2 separate regions of the Homo sapiens genome follow, and region 1 is linked to region 2. The links are contacts of gene promoters, found by promoter capture Hi-C in blood cells and fetal thymus (Javierre and others, 2016). All regions are on one chromosome and are shown on one strand. Each heading gives the region's core, a stretch centred on a gene start or on the middle of the fragment in contact. The rest is flanking DNA. Distances are from core to core; before and after follow the strand shown.

Region 1 (6,442 bases), core at 96-2,595, 930 kb before region 2:
TTCGTTTTCCACCTGGAGCTCTACAAAGGGGCCAGGGGCTTCCCCTCACTCCAGCCTTTCTAGTCCACACCCAGAACTCTTCAGATCCTTGACCCCAGTGGCTTTTCAGTCAGCCTCCCCTTTTCTGCCCGGCTTCTCTTGAGTCCATCTACTTTTCTTCCCCACTTTGTGACGTGTTTTTAGCTCCCCCTTAAGTCTCCCTAACTCATTCTTTTTCTCATAGACAGTGAAAAAGCAGTCTGGCTCCCGAGGTCCACCCCTTATACCCCAAGGTCCAGATGGCGGCCAACGTGGGTGATCAACGTAGCACAGATTGGTTAGTGAGGCGAGAGGGATGGAGGCCAGTCGGGAGGGAAAGAGGAAGCAAGACCCAGTGCTGTCCTCTGGGGTGGGACCTCCCGTGGCCTTAGGGGAGGTGATGCCACAATCCCTGTGGGTGGGGGTGGTGGTGAGGCAAACACAGAGGGAAGCATTTGGTTGTGGTGTGGAGAGGGGCAAGCTTTCACCTCTCTGAGCTTTCGTTTTTCACAGTACAGCGCTTGCTTTGCAGAATTGTGATGATTCATTCAAGCAAGTGTAATTAGGAGGCAGCTTCCCAACACTCAATACACAGTCATTTATTTGTTTTTCTGCTGATTCCTTATTTTTTCTCAAAATAGTGTGATAACCTGCCGACTGGGGTGATGTCAGACAGAATTCATTGATTCATGAAAGACATAGCCCTAGGAGGTGCCAAGGCCTGTGTTCAGTTCTGTGGGTTCTGTTAATTGTTTTGTTTGTTTGGTTTTAACAACTGCTGTGTGCCAGGCTCTGGGATAAGTACCTTAAGTAGGTGATCTCATTTATCCCTCCCAGCAGACTCTGAAGCAGAAACCCTTTATCAGCATAGTACAGATTAGAAAACTTAGGCTTAGACTGGTAGTAACAGTTAGATATGGGATCCAGGGGCTGGAATTTGCCTCCCAACTTGCCCACCTGTGTACAGTGGGGAGAACAGGTGTGACTTGATGTCCTCTCTCTCTGCAGGTCTTCTCAGTACAGCATGGTGGCTGGGGCAGGCCGAGAGAATGGCATGGAGACGCCGATGCACGAGAACCCGGAGTGGGAGAAGGCCCGTCAGGCCCTGGCCAGCATCAGCAAGTCAGGAGCTGCCGGCGGCTCTGCCAAGTCCAGCAGCAATGGGCCTGTGGCCAGTGCACAGGTGAGAAGGCCTCATGGGGCTGGGGTACCCTGAGCCAGAGGTTGTGGGAGGGACACAGTCTGGCGTCCTGTTGTATCATTCAGACGGGGTGCTCTGAGGGGAAACATGAAAAGACGTTCCAGGGTATCTAAATCTGAACGGGAAAAAGTTCTGTTTCCTTGAGGAAATTAGGGCGTGATGTGGTTCTGAAGAGGGAGGCCATGCCCATGCCCCTGGTCTCTAACGTGCGTGAGTCTCATGGTAGAGACAGTGGCTCACTTTGCAGATACATGGACCCAGTTTCATCCCTTGGCAATTGGCCACCAGTAAACAGGCTTGCCCTTTGGGGGCCGTGTGCCTGTGGATTTGGGCTGCTGACGGCACATGTGCCTCTGCTTCCACAGTACGTGTCCCAGGCAGAAGCCTCAGCTTTGCAGCAGCAGCAGTACTACCAGTGGTACCAGCAGTACAACTATGCCTACCCCTACAGCTACTACTATCCCATGGTGAGTGCCCAGCCAGTGGGGCGGGGCAGGGCGAGGTGGAGTCTGCTGGGTCGGGGCGAGGTGAAGTGGAGTCTGCCGGGATGGGGCTGGGTGGTGGATGGACTGGAGATCGCAGTGATAACTGCTCAGAAACCCTCTAACTTGCCCAGGAGGTAAATTCCTAGGTCCCCGCCATGAGCCACAAGGTCCTACATACCCGGTTCTGGTCCCTTCTCTCCTCATGCTCATTCTGCCATGGCCATCGAAGCAGAGACCTCCTTGATGCCCGCACCCGCCAGGCCCGCTCTCGCTTTGCCCTGGCTGCAGTGCTCCCTGTGTTGCCGCCTCTTGGAGGTCTCTGCTCAGATGCCGCCTTCAGAGAGCCTCTACCTGACACACTGATTGAAAGTAGCATTCCTGCCTCGCAGCCTGTCCCTCTCCCTTTCTTTGCCATCTTATTGTTTCATGATCCTTATTGCTGGATGTATTACATGTTGATGTCTCCAGCCGGACATGTAATTCCAGCACAAGCTTCATTACAGCATGGGTTTTCCTTTTGTTCTGTCGTAGTGCTTAGAAGAGTTGGCACTCAGTATCGTTGATTATATTCTTCCGAGAACTAGCTAAGTGAGATGTGGGATTGATAGAGGTTTTTCTTTTCCTAATATATGAGAGGATGTGGTGCATTAATATAGTGAAGAGAGAAAGGGGTGAGGGATTGGTAGAGGGTCATGGCTGGTGTAGTTCCTGAGCAGGCTGGGGAAGCGGAAAGGGTAGGCCTCCCACTAAACCCTCCCTCCCTGCGCCTTTGCAGAGCATGTACCAGAGCTATGGCTCCCCTTCCCAGTATGGGATGGCCGGCTCCTATGGCTCAGCCACACCCCAGCAGCCATCCGCACCCCAACACCAAGGGACTCTGAACCAGGTAACATCCTAGCCCAGCTCCCATACCCTGCTCAAGCAGAGGAAGTGTAGATTTTTGAATGAGCTGTCAATGAGGAATGGCTTGTACTCCTTAAGCTGCTTTTTTCCTTCCAAGCAACTCCTGATCTGAAAATGAGGAGGACAGAGCATAGTGTTTGAACCTGGGGTGGGTTTAAGGCTGAGCCAAGGCCAGGGCTGAGATGTTGAAAGACATCTCATCTTTTTCCCTAGCATGGTCACCCACAGGCGTGCACACACCGGCTGGGTTTTGCATTGAATGTGCAGCTTGGAGGAATGGCCGGGCTAGTGCACAGGAGGCAGGTAGACCTGGGTTTGAATCCCAGCTGTCCCACCCCTGGTGTAATTACGCATCTCGGTCAGCTCTCGAAAGCGGGAAGGATGGTAGCCTCATCCTTGGGCTCCATGAGTGTGTGTGCTCATGGGTGTCTTGTGCTCAGATGGTAGCGCTGGAGTGGGTGTGTTGTCGGTGGCTGTTACTCCAGCATTGAAACGCTGCCAGCTGCCGCTTCATAGCTTAGGGCCCTGGGAAGTCGCTTAGTCTCTGAGCTGGAGCCTTGTCAGCTGTGAAAAGGGCTGTTAACAAATGTTAACCTCACAGAGTTACTGAGGACTCGAATGAACTCACATTTGGGAAGGTCACGGGAGGGTTGAGTGCTGAGTGCTGTGACCACTGCGTCCTCACAGCGAGGGCTGAGTGCCACTCGCCAGCCCCAGAATCTGCCTCCCGTGCTCAGCGCCTGCTTCCTTCTGCAGCCCCCAGTCCCCGGCATGGATGAGAGCATGTCCTACCAGGCTCCCCCTCAGCAGCTGCCGTCGGCTCAGCCCCCTCAGCCCTCAAATCCCCCACATGGGGCTCACACGCTGAACAGTGGCCCTCAGCCTGGGACAGCTCCAGCCACACAGCACAGCCAGGCGGGGCCCGCCACGGGCCAGGCCTATGGGCCACACACCTACACCGAACCTGCCAAGCCCAAGAAGGGCCAACAGCTGTGGAACCGCATGAAACGTAAGTTGGCAGAGCTACGTGGAGGTCCGAGCGGTTGGGCCCTCATAAGAGCTCCTGGGTGTGAGGCCCGTGGTGTGTGCTGCTCCTTGTTTCTGGGTGTTGTGATCGCCAGGCTGGGGGTGGGGCTGCTCTGGACCAGGCACATGTGTGCTGGAGCCCTCCTCTAGAACCTGAGCGCTCCTCCCTGCATTTCCACTTCCTCCCGTCCCCTGGGGACCCCTGGATGTGCCGGGGAAGGGCCTAACCATAGCTTTCGCTGCCCTCACAGCCGCCCCTGGGACTGGAGGTCTCAAGTTCAACATCCAGAAGCGACCCTTTGCTGTTACCACCCAGAGCTTTGGCTCCAACGCAGAGGGCCAGCACAGTGGTTTTGGCCCCCAGCCCAACCCTGAGAAAGTTCAGAACCACAGGTGACGTCTGCCCCCTTGCCCCGTCGCAGCCCCACACTCTGCACTCAGCGTCTATGGTCCAGTCCCACTGGCCAGCTGCCCACCCTGAGCCTCAGTGTGCGCCTCTGAAAAGGGCAGAAGGACCCTCTCTTGGGGGTTGCTGTGAGCACTGAAGGAGACAGAAGGAAAACTTGGGGACTGCGTCCCGCTGTGTCAGCTCAGAGTGGCGGTGGGGATGGTCTTTTGAGTTTGGGATCGTCTCCAGCTGAGCCCCTCATCTGTCCTCCCGCAGCGGGTCCTCTGCCCGGGGGAACCTGTCTGGGAAGCCGGATGACTGGCCCCAGGACATGAAAGAGTATGTGGAGCGCTGCTTCACCGCCTGTGAGTCGGAGGAGGACAAGGACCGCACGGAAAAGCTGCTCAAGGAGGTGCTGCAGGCGCGGCTGCAGGACGGCTCGGCCTATACCATTGACTGGAGCCGGGAGCCCTTGCCGGGGTTAGTCTGGGTGGGGGACATAGGTGGGAGGGTGGTGCTGTGAGAGGCATGGGCTGGGTATGGAGGTAGGAGAGTTGCGGGTCCCAGGTACCAGGAGCTCCAAAGAGAAATGAACTGGAAAGTTGGATCCTGGGGGGATGAAGTCCTGGTTGGAGGGAGGCCGGTGGGGTGGGGTGGGGACCATGGGTGCTGGAGAGGCGTGCATTGCTCAGTGGTTAAGCGCACCCTCTGGAGACGGAAAACCTGGGTTCGCGTCTCATTTCTGCACTGTAGTAGCTGAGCCGCCTGGGGTAAGTGCCTTTCCTTTCGGAGGCGGGTCGGTACCTTGAGGGAGGTGGTGGCGGCTGTCCTGCCAGTGTCTGGCGGGGTTGGTGACGCCCTGCCCTGCTGTATTCTCAGGCTGACCCGGGAGCCTGTGGCTGAGAGCCCTAAGAAGAAGCGGTGGGAGGCCGCTAGCAGCCTTCACCCTCCTAGAGGGGCAGGCTCGGCGACAAGGGGCGGGGGTGCCCCGTCCCAGCGAGGGACGCCCGGGGCTGGGGGTGCCGGTCGAGCCCGGGGCAACAGCTTCACCAAGTTTGGCAACCGCAACGTCTTCATGAAGGACAACAGCTCTTCTTCCAGCACAGACTCCCGCTCCCGCTCCTCCTCCAGGTCCCCGACGCGCCACTTCCGCAGAAGGTACTGAGGCTCCCGGCTGGGGCTGTGTGTGAGGGAGGGGGAGGCGTTTCAGGCCTGACCCTCCTGCTTCTTCCTGCAGTGACTCCCACTCAGACTCCGACAGCTCCTACTCAGGGAATGAGTGTCACCCTGTGGGCCGCAGGAACCCGCCCCCTAAGGGCCGGGGCGGTCGAGGGGCCCATATGGATCGGGGCCGAGGCAGGGCGCAGCGTGGGAAGAGGTGAGACTGTGTGAGGGCTCGACACACGGGCCAGGGTGGAGGAGGGTACTGGGGACCCATGGGAGAAGGAGGAGGAGGGCCGGACAGGTGGACAGCCAGCTGCCAAAGGGGCGAGGCTGAAGGGGGGCTGGAGACGCCTGTCGCGCTCACTGCCCCTCATCCCTTCCTAGGCACGATCTGGCGCCCACCAAGCGCAGTCGAAAGAAGATGGCGGCGCTGGAGTGTGAGGACCCGGAGCGAGAGCTGAAGAAGCAGAAGCGGGCAGCCCGCTTCCAGCACGGACACTCCCGCCGCCTGCGCCTCGAGCCCCTGGTGCTGCAGATGAGCAGCCTGGAGAGCAGTGGGGCTGACCCTGACTGGCAGGAGCTGCAGATCGTGGGCACCTGCCCTGACATCACCAAGCACTACCTGCGCCTCACCTGTGCCCCCGACCCGTCCACCGTGCGCCCTGTGGCAGTAAGTGCCCAGCAGGGCAGTTCTGCTCTGTGAGGCCGTGCTGGCTCAGGACTTGGGGAGCCAACCCAGGGAGGGTGGCAGAGGCCACACGGGGGCTCTGGTATGGCAGGGGAAGCTCGGCCAGAGACGCCTCGGCTGGTCGGCATTCTGAGAGGAGCGCAAAGGCGCTCTGCTGCCCTGGAGCCCCGCGTGGCGGGTGTGCAGCTTGGCCGGCGAATCGCTTGACCTCTGGGCCGTGGTTCCTGGCTTAGGTGACACGGAGCATAAAGCCTTCTCCCAGGCCCGTGGGCTGTGGGGCGTGGGGGGCTGTGTTTCCAGTGTTTGGCGTAGTCACTGTTCTGCTGCAGAACCTGTGAACAGCCATGTGCTTATAGGGAAATGGGTGTGGAGGTGGCCACTCTTAACCCATGTCTTGTGGGTTTGTTTTCTCTTTTTTTGGGAGAGAGTCTGGCTCTGTCGCCCAAGCTGGAGTGCAATGGCGTGATCTTGGCTCACCGCAGCCTCCGCTCCCCGGCTTCAAGCGATTCTCCTGCCTCAGCCTCCCTAGTGGCTGGGATTACAGGCGTCTGCCACTACGCCTGGCTGAT
Region 2 (7,093 bases), core at 4,594-7,093:
CTGCGCTCATGGGGGTGTCCTGGGCTGTGATCATGGGGACCCTGGACTGAGGGGATAGAGGTGTACGAGTGCTGGAGTGCGGGTCTGAAATGAGGGAGTTGGGGGTATGTGGGGGTGGTGGGGTCTGAGGGGTGCCTGGACTGGGTGGGGAGAGGGGCACGCCACAGCTGTGGAAACGTGCCCCTCAGTCTCCTACATGGAGTGCCAGTGACTGACAGTGCCCCCCGCCCCCACCCCAGATGCACCTAGATTACCATGGGTTGCTCTCCACCAATAACTGAGCATGGCGAGGCAAGGGGTGGGGGTTCCGGGTACAGGTGCCTTCTCGAAGGGCAGGGGCCTCCCTCATGGACGATGACTTCAGCTCCCAGCTCCCCAGGGGCCAGTGGCAATTTTCTTGGAGGTGCGGTACAGTCTAAGACTAGTCCTACCCATCCCTCCCTCCCTCTCCCTGCACCAAGCTACCCTACAAAAGTGTTTCCCCAAGACATATCTTGCAAGTCCAGTTTGTCTCTGTGTCTGCTTCTCAGTGAACCCAAACTCACACAGGGATGTTGGGGCTTAGAGTGGAGGGTCTGGGCTAAGATCCTTATCCCCCGCCCCCTCTCTGGCCCCCTCTGAGAAGGGGCCAGCATAAGGCTAGGCTCCTATATCCCCAGGGCTCCTGGTCTCCCCAGGGCAGGGGCAGCCTCACCTCAGGTGTGGCCAGGCCCACCTGGGTGCTAGAAGGAAGCAAGCCACCTCGTCTCCATTCCCACCCCAGCAGGGTCCCTCTCCCAGACAGACATGCAGCACTAAGGCAAATCTGCTTTTTATCCAAGTGAGGAGGGAGGGGGTACAGGGAGCGTCCGTCTGGCCACGGATGTAGGGGCAGCTGCACATCTCAGTCTGGTCCTGACAGCTGGAGCCAAGGGGTTGTCTGCAGGAGGGAGGGTGGAGTGAGCGACTGCTCAGGAACCCCTCCCATCCCTGTTCCGGGCTCTCTGCCTGCGGGGGCAGAGGCAGGGAGCCCCATCCGCCTGCCCTTGCCGCTCACATGGACTCACACACTTGCTCCTTCATCCCTGCATGCCCCCATTTGCTGAGTGTGTGCATGCGTGTGTACCTTTAACGCCCTGAAATCCAAGGGTAGAGGCCAGGGAATGCGAGCCAGGGAGAGGCAGAAAGGGGGAGACGAAGACATGCAGAAGGGGAAAGGCAGAAGCACAGGGACAAAGAAAGAGACCTGGGAGACAGAGACACAGAGACAAAGAGTGAGAGAGAGGGAGACAGGCAGACACAGTGAAGACAGAAGGAGGCCGGGCATCGTGGTCCTCATCTCAGACCCTCACCCCAGCATTTTGGCTGCAGGCAGGAGGATCACTTGAGCCCAGGAGTTTGACACCAGCCTGGGTAACATAGGAAGACCCCGTCTCTGGTACCTGTAGTCCCAGTTCCTTGGGAGGCTGAGGTGGGAGGATTGCTTGAGCCCAGGAGGTGGAGGCTGCAGTGAGCTGTGATTGCACCACTGCTCTCCAGCCTGAACAACAGAGTGATGGGGGTGGCTCTGCCCGGCTACTCATGGTGGTCTCGGAGGTTGTGGGGGTACCAGAGCCAGAACCTGTGGGTCCCTCTGCTAAAATTCAGGTTCTCTGTCTTTCATGCGCTGGAAGCTGCTCACTCTCCCCAGTAAACAAGAGTCCTGGGTTTGAACAGGCCCATTTTCCTCTAAGTGGGGCCTACGTTCGAGTCAGTGTGGTCTGAGTCTTTGGTGGAGGCTCCAAGAGTGGAGGCCTGTGCAGCTGTGTTAGACGTTTAAGCTACGTAAAGGATTCTCCTCTCCTCCCCTCCCCTCCCCTCCCCCCTTCCCCCCTCCCCTCCCCCCTTGCCCGTCCCCTCCCCCTTCCCCCTTCCCCCTCCCCTCCCTTCCCCCCTTCCCTCCCTGCTTCCCCCTCCCCTCCCCCTTCCCCCCTCCTCCCCTCCCCTCCCCTCCTCTCCTCTCCTTTTCTTTTTTTGAGATGGAGTCTTGCTCTGTTGCCCAAGCTGGAGTGCAGTGGCACGATCTTGGTTCACTGCAACCTCCGCCTCCCAGATTCAAGTGATTCTCCTGCCTCAGCCTCCCTAGTAGCTGGGATTACAGGCGTCCGCCACCATGCCTGGCTAATTTTTGTATTTTTAGTAGAGACAGGGTTTCACCATGGTTGCCAGGTTGGTCTCGAACTCCTGACCTCAGGTGATCCACCCGCCTCGGCCTCCCAAAGTGCTGGGATTACAGGCATGAGCCACCATGCCCAACCTCATAAAGGATGTTCTTTTCTTTCTTTTTTTGAGACGGGTTCTCACTCTGTCACTCAGGCTGGAGTGCAGTGGCGTGATCTTGGCTCACTGCAGCCTTTGCCTCCCAGGTTCAAGCAAGCAATTCTCCCACCTCGGCCTCCCAAAGTGCTGGGATTACAGGCATGAGCCACTGTGCTCAGCCAGGATTTCCAAAGGTAACAGTAACTACAGGTGCTTATGTTTGCATTCTATGCCAAGCTTCATGTTAGCTTACGCTTCACCCGTGCAAGCAGATGTTCATGCTTTCTTACCCCAGTTCCTTCACTGAATCACGGCACGTAGCATATGATTGGGGTGACTATTTCCCCAAATCTCACAAAGAATAATATATAACTGGTAGCATTCTGGATGCATAGGAGAAAAGTTAATTCCAGCCGGGCACGGTGGTTCACGCCTGTAATCCCAGCACTTTGGGTGGCCGAGGTGGGCGGATCACCCGAGATCGGGAGTTTGAGACCAGCCTGACCAACATGGAGAAACCCCGTCTCTACTAAAAATACAAAATTAGCCAGGTGTGGGGGTGCATGCCTGTAATCCCAGCTACTCGGGAAGCTGAGGCAAGAGAATTGCTTGAACGCGGGAGGCAGAGGTTGCAGTGAGCCGAGATTGCGCCACTGCACTCCAGCCTGGACAACAAGAGTGTAACTCCATCTCAAAAAAAAAAAAAAAAAAAAAAAAAGTTAATTATTTACCTACATAGAACGTCCTAGGATAATAGGGTTTAATTCTTTTACCAAAACCCTATTTGAGAGATGAATTCAGTCACCCAACCATCCATGTGCCATTAAATGCATTCATCCACTCATCTGTGTACTTATCATTCAGCCCCAACCATCTATTCAACTACCCATTCACCCATCTACCTATCTATCCAGAGAGCGCACAGAGGCTGGGCAAACTCTGACTGTCCTATGGATAGTCCTATGGACCAGCCGAGGCCCCTGCCCCAAGGAGTTCCCAGGTGTAACCGCAAGTTAAGGTGCCCTGGGGAGGTGACACAGGCACCCTCATTTCTTTTGTTCAGTAGGAGTCTCTGAGGCCTCCCCAGTACCATGCTGCATGGGTGAGGCCGAGGACACAGAGAAGTATCAGGAAAAGCTCTTGCCCCTTTATCAGGCAGGGCTCCCTCTCCAACCATATCCATTCATGGTTCATTGCCCAATTCACCACCTACCCATATCTACCCATTAAACAACCCATCCATCCGTCAATCCAACCACATCCCTGCATCAACCAACCCATGTATTCACCCATCCACCCACCCACCCATCTGTCCATTCACCCGTCCATCCACCCATCCATCTACCCATCCACCTATCCAACCACCCACCCATCTATGCATTCACCCATCCATCCATCAAACAACTCATCCATCCACGCACCCATCGATCTACCCATCCACCCACCCACCCATCTATCAATCTATCATCCATTCACCCATGCATCCATCAACCAACTCATCCATCCATCCACCCATCCATCTACCCATCCACCCATCCAGCCATCCGTTCTTCCATCCATCCTTCCACTTCCCTACCCAACCATCAACCTTTCCTGATTTCACACTTTTTGCTGGGCAATGCTAGGAACAAGGACGCTAGGGACCTAGGTCTTACCCTCAAGGCACTCCCTGTCAGGTGGGAGAGACAGTAACAACATAGACACAGCACATGGCCATATAAGCAGCAAGAGGGGTCGCTCAGACAATATGAAGACCCAGAGAAGACCCAGAGAAATTAAGTTAAATCTTAAACATGTGAGAAGTTTTCTGGGTGGAGTGGAGACAGCCAAGGGCACTCCTGGTGTAGAGAAGAGCAGGAACAGGGACCAACTGGCTATCTGTGGACTAAGAGACACCATTAGTGCAGAGAGGCAGGAGAAATGGGGCCAAAATATGGGGGGTCCACAGGCCAGTGAGTGCTTCAGTTTAACCAAAGGTGAAGAGGGAGCCACAGCAGGTCTTTGAGCAGAGGCAGGCTAGCTGGAAAGGTGTGTTTAGGAAAGAGATAGAAGGTAGAGGGGAAAGGGGAGTGAATGTGTGGTGGCTTCATTTCTCCTGCTGTTGGTCCTTCTTACTCCTCCTTTTCTAGGCCTACAGGTCAGGAAAATCCCAGCTCCTCCTTTCCTAGGCCTACAGGTCAGGAGAATCCCAGCTCCTCTTTTCCTAGGCCTACAGGTCAGGAGAATCCCAGCTCCTCCACCTACGTGTTGTGTGGCCTTGGGCAAATGTGGCGCCTTTCTGCGCTTCAGTTTCCTCCACTGCAGAATGGGGATGGTAATAGTAGTGACCTTGGAGACCAGTTACATGGAGAGGATTAAATGGGGCCTGGTCTGGGCTCAGTGGCTCACGCCTGTAATCCCAGCACTTTGGGAGGCTGAGGAGAGCAAATCGCATGAGCTCAGGAGGTGGGGACCAACCTGGCCCACATGGCAAAACCCCGTCTCTACTAAATATACAAAAATTAGCCCGGCAAGGTGGGGCGCACATGTATTCTCAGCTACTTGGGAGGCTCAGGTGGGAGGACTGCTTGAGCCTAGGAGGTCGAGGCTGCTGTGAGCTGAGATCACGCCACTGCACTCCAGCCTGGGTGACAGTGAGAGATCCTGTCTCAAAACAACCCCAAACGACAACAAAACAAAACAAAACAAAAAATGGGGCCTGGTGTACCTGGAAGCTGGGGCTCTCCCCGTGCGGGGGGCCTAACTGTGTGACTCGACCCCCACACTTCCCATCTCCAGGGGCAGGGTCTCACAGCCTCCCCCACGTATGCACCTGTGCTTGCTGTGTCTGCGGTTCTCCGCCAGAGCCTTCCCGTCCCTGTCTCCACCCCGCCCTGGGACTCTACCTCCCCATGGCCGCTCTCTGTCTCCATCTGTCCATCGCTCCCCCGTCTGTCTCCATTCCCGTCCCTCCCTCGGTCCCTCCGTCTCCCCGCCCTGCCCCGCCCGCCCCTCACCTGGGCCTCACTCGCTGCCCGCGCCCGCCGCCCCGGGCCCGGCCTCGAGCGTGGCGAGCTGCAGGCGCACGCGGCGGGAGCCGGCGGCGGGCGGCGGGGGCGCGCGGGCGGCTCGGCGCGCTCTCCGGGAGCCGGGCGCGGGGCGCTGGCCCGCGGCGGCGGGCGCCGACCAGCGGCGGGAGAGCTTGCGCGCCAGGCGGGCGAGCGCCGAGGGCCGCAGGCCGTAGTCGCGCTCCAGCTCCTGGCGCGAGATCTCGATGTTGCCGGTGTACCAGAGGATCCAGCCCAGCAGGCTCAGGAACACCAGCAGCGCGCCCGAGTAGATGAGCAGGTCCCCGAAGTCGCGGCCGCGCACCTGCAGCTGCGCGAACACGCCGGTCAGCAGCGCCGCCATGCCCGCCACATCCAGCGCCACGGCCAGCAGCAGCGCCATCCGGCAGCGGCCCAGGCCGGCCGCGGGTGCTGGCGCGGCCGCCGGCGCGGACGGTGCACCCGGCGGGCTCCCCTGCGAGGCGCACACCGCTGGCGCCGCCGCCATGGCCCTGCACCGCCGCCGCTGGCGCCCAGAGAGAGCGTTCCGGGGTGCGGCCCGGTCCGGGGCGGGGTCAGGGGACGGCGCCAGGTGTGCCAAGCTCCCGCCTGGTCACCTGAACCGGGCTGGGCGCGAACCGGCGCGGCCGGGGTTACCCTGGTCGTGGTTTCCGTGCAGGGGCTATTGCTCAGAGGCCTGAGCTGGTGGTAGCCAGGCGCACAGCCACGGGTGCCTAGGGCCCGTGCCACCCAGGGAGGTCACATATGGCCAAAAATCAGGGCATTTTAGTGGTGGCAGCATGGGACACTCGGAGCCGGGCGTGGCGTTGTTTCTGCTCAGTGTCCGCCTCCCGAAGCCTGTGCAGATCAGACAGTGCAGATCAGACAAGGCCTTTAGACACCAAGGAGCTCTGGGACGCGAGAACCAGTAGTCGGGGTGATCTAAGAGGGGAAGCTCCGGGTTCCGCGGAAGCTGAGTTTCCTTCACTCAGCGCGTGTCTTCTGGGGTCTCCTGTGTTCAGCGAATGAAGCCACGGGCACAAGGACGGACGAGACCCATCAGGTCCAGAGCGCACCCGTGGAGGAAGCTGGGCGAACCCCGACTGTCCTATGGAGGATAGTCCTATGGACCAGACGAAGCCCCTGCCCCAAGGAGTGCCCGGGTGTAACCGCAAGTTAAGGAGCCCTGGGGAGGTGACACAGGCACCCTCATTCCTTTTGTTCAGTAGGAGTCTCTGAGGCCTCCCCAGCACCATGCCGCGTGGGTGAGGCCGAGGACACAGAGAAATATCAGGCAAGGCTCCTGCCCCCTTAGGGTGGCCCTGACAACGGATCATAACCTCCCAGGGAGCTGATGGGGTGTGACAGGCACACCATAGGCTGGAGGCACAGGTGGAGGGCAGGGAAGAGGACCGGCAAATCTATAGAATCCTAAAGGGAGCCAAGAGAAGCCACATGCAAATCTCCCTCCCTCCAAACAATTCTCCCTTAGAGGGCATCCGCGCTCCCCTGGGGTGGCAGTCAGCGAGAAGTTTCCGTGTAGGTTCTCCCCAGGCTTAAACAGTTTAAGAGTTTTATTTCAAGAAAACCCTGGGGAGGGCGAACTGCAAGAGGGCTGCCAGGATTAGCCGAGGGATTCCGAATGAAGACGGAGTATTTCCGAACATACACACCTCTCCCAAGAGCGTTTCCGGAGGGTTCCGAAAATACCCGAGCGGGCCTCGGCGCCCTCATTGGCCATCACCGCGAGGGCTTACGAAGACCGGAAATATCCAAAGGTGCCGGGGCTA

The links. The method cuts DNA at HindIII sites, captures the fragments that hold promoters and counts their contacts. A CHiCAGO score of 5 or more calls a contact.
Region 1: a fragment that was not itself captured here is called in contact with the fragment with the promoter of TMEM238 in region 2 in 4 of 17 cell types (non-activated CD4 T cells, total CD8 T cells, activated CD4 T cells and 1 more); the score reaches 5.9 in non-activated CD4 T cells.

What each region holds. Positions count from the first base shown.
Region 1 is chr19:54,451,067-54,457,508 of GRCh38, forward strand. It overlaps LENG8 (leukocyte receptor cluster member 8), which reads left to right. Exons shown (of 16, transcript NM_052925.4): 2 at 224-316; 3 at 1,027-1,201; 4 at 1,585-1,686; 5 at 2,480-2,590; 6 at 3,364-3,616; 7 at 3,885-4,026; 8 at 4,298-4,501; 9 at 4,901-5,179; 10 at 5,259-5,399; 11 at 5,570-5,855. The coding sequence starts at 279. Among named protein-coding and RNA genes, the nearest start is that of LENG8, 5.1 kb to the left of the region's middle. The HindIII fragment of the contact is 1,697 bases long and covers 498-2,194 here.
Region 2 is chr19:55,378,449-55,385,541 of GRCh38, forward strand. TMEM238 (transmembrane protein 238) reads right to left here and starts at 5,844. Exons shown (of 2, transcript NM_001190764.2): 1 at 5,274-5,844; 2 at 796-919. The coding sequence starts at 5,811. The coding sequence ends at 5,281. RefSeq lists enhancers at 847-1,347, 5,444-6,406, 6,360-6,429, 6,460-6,529 and silencers at 5,350-5,439, 5,730-6,069. The HindIII fragment of the contact is 6,498 bases long and covers 2,513-7,093 here.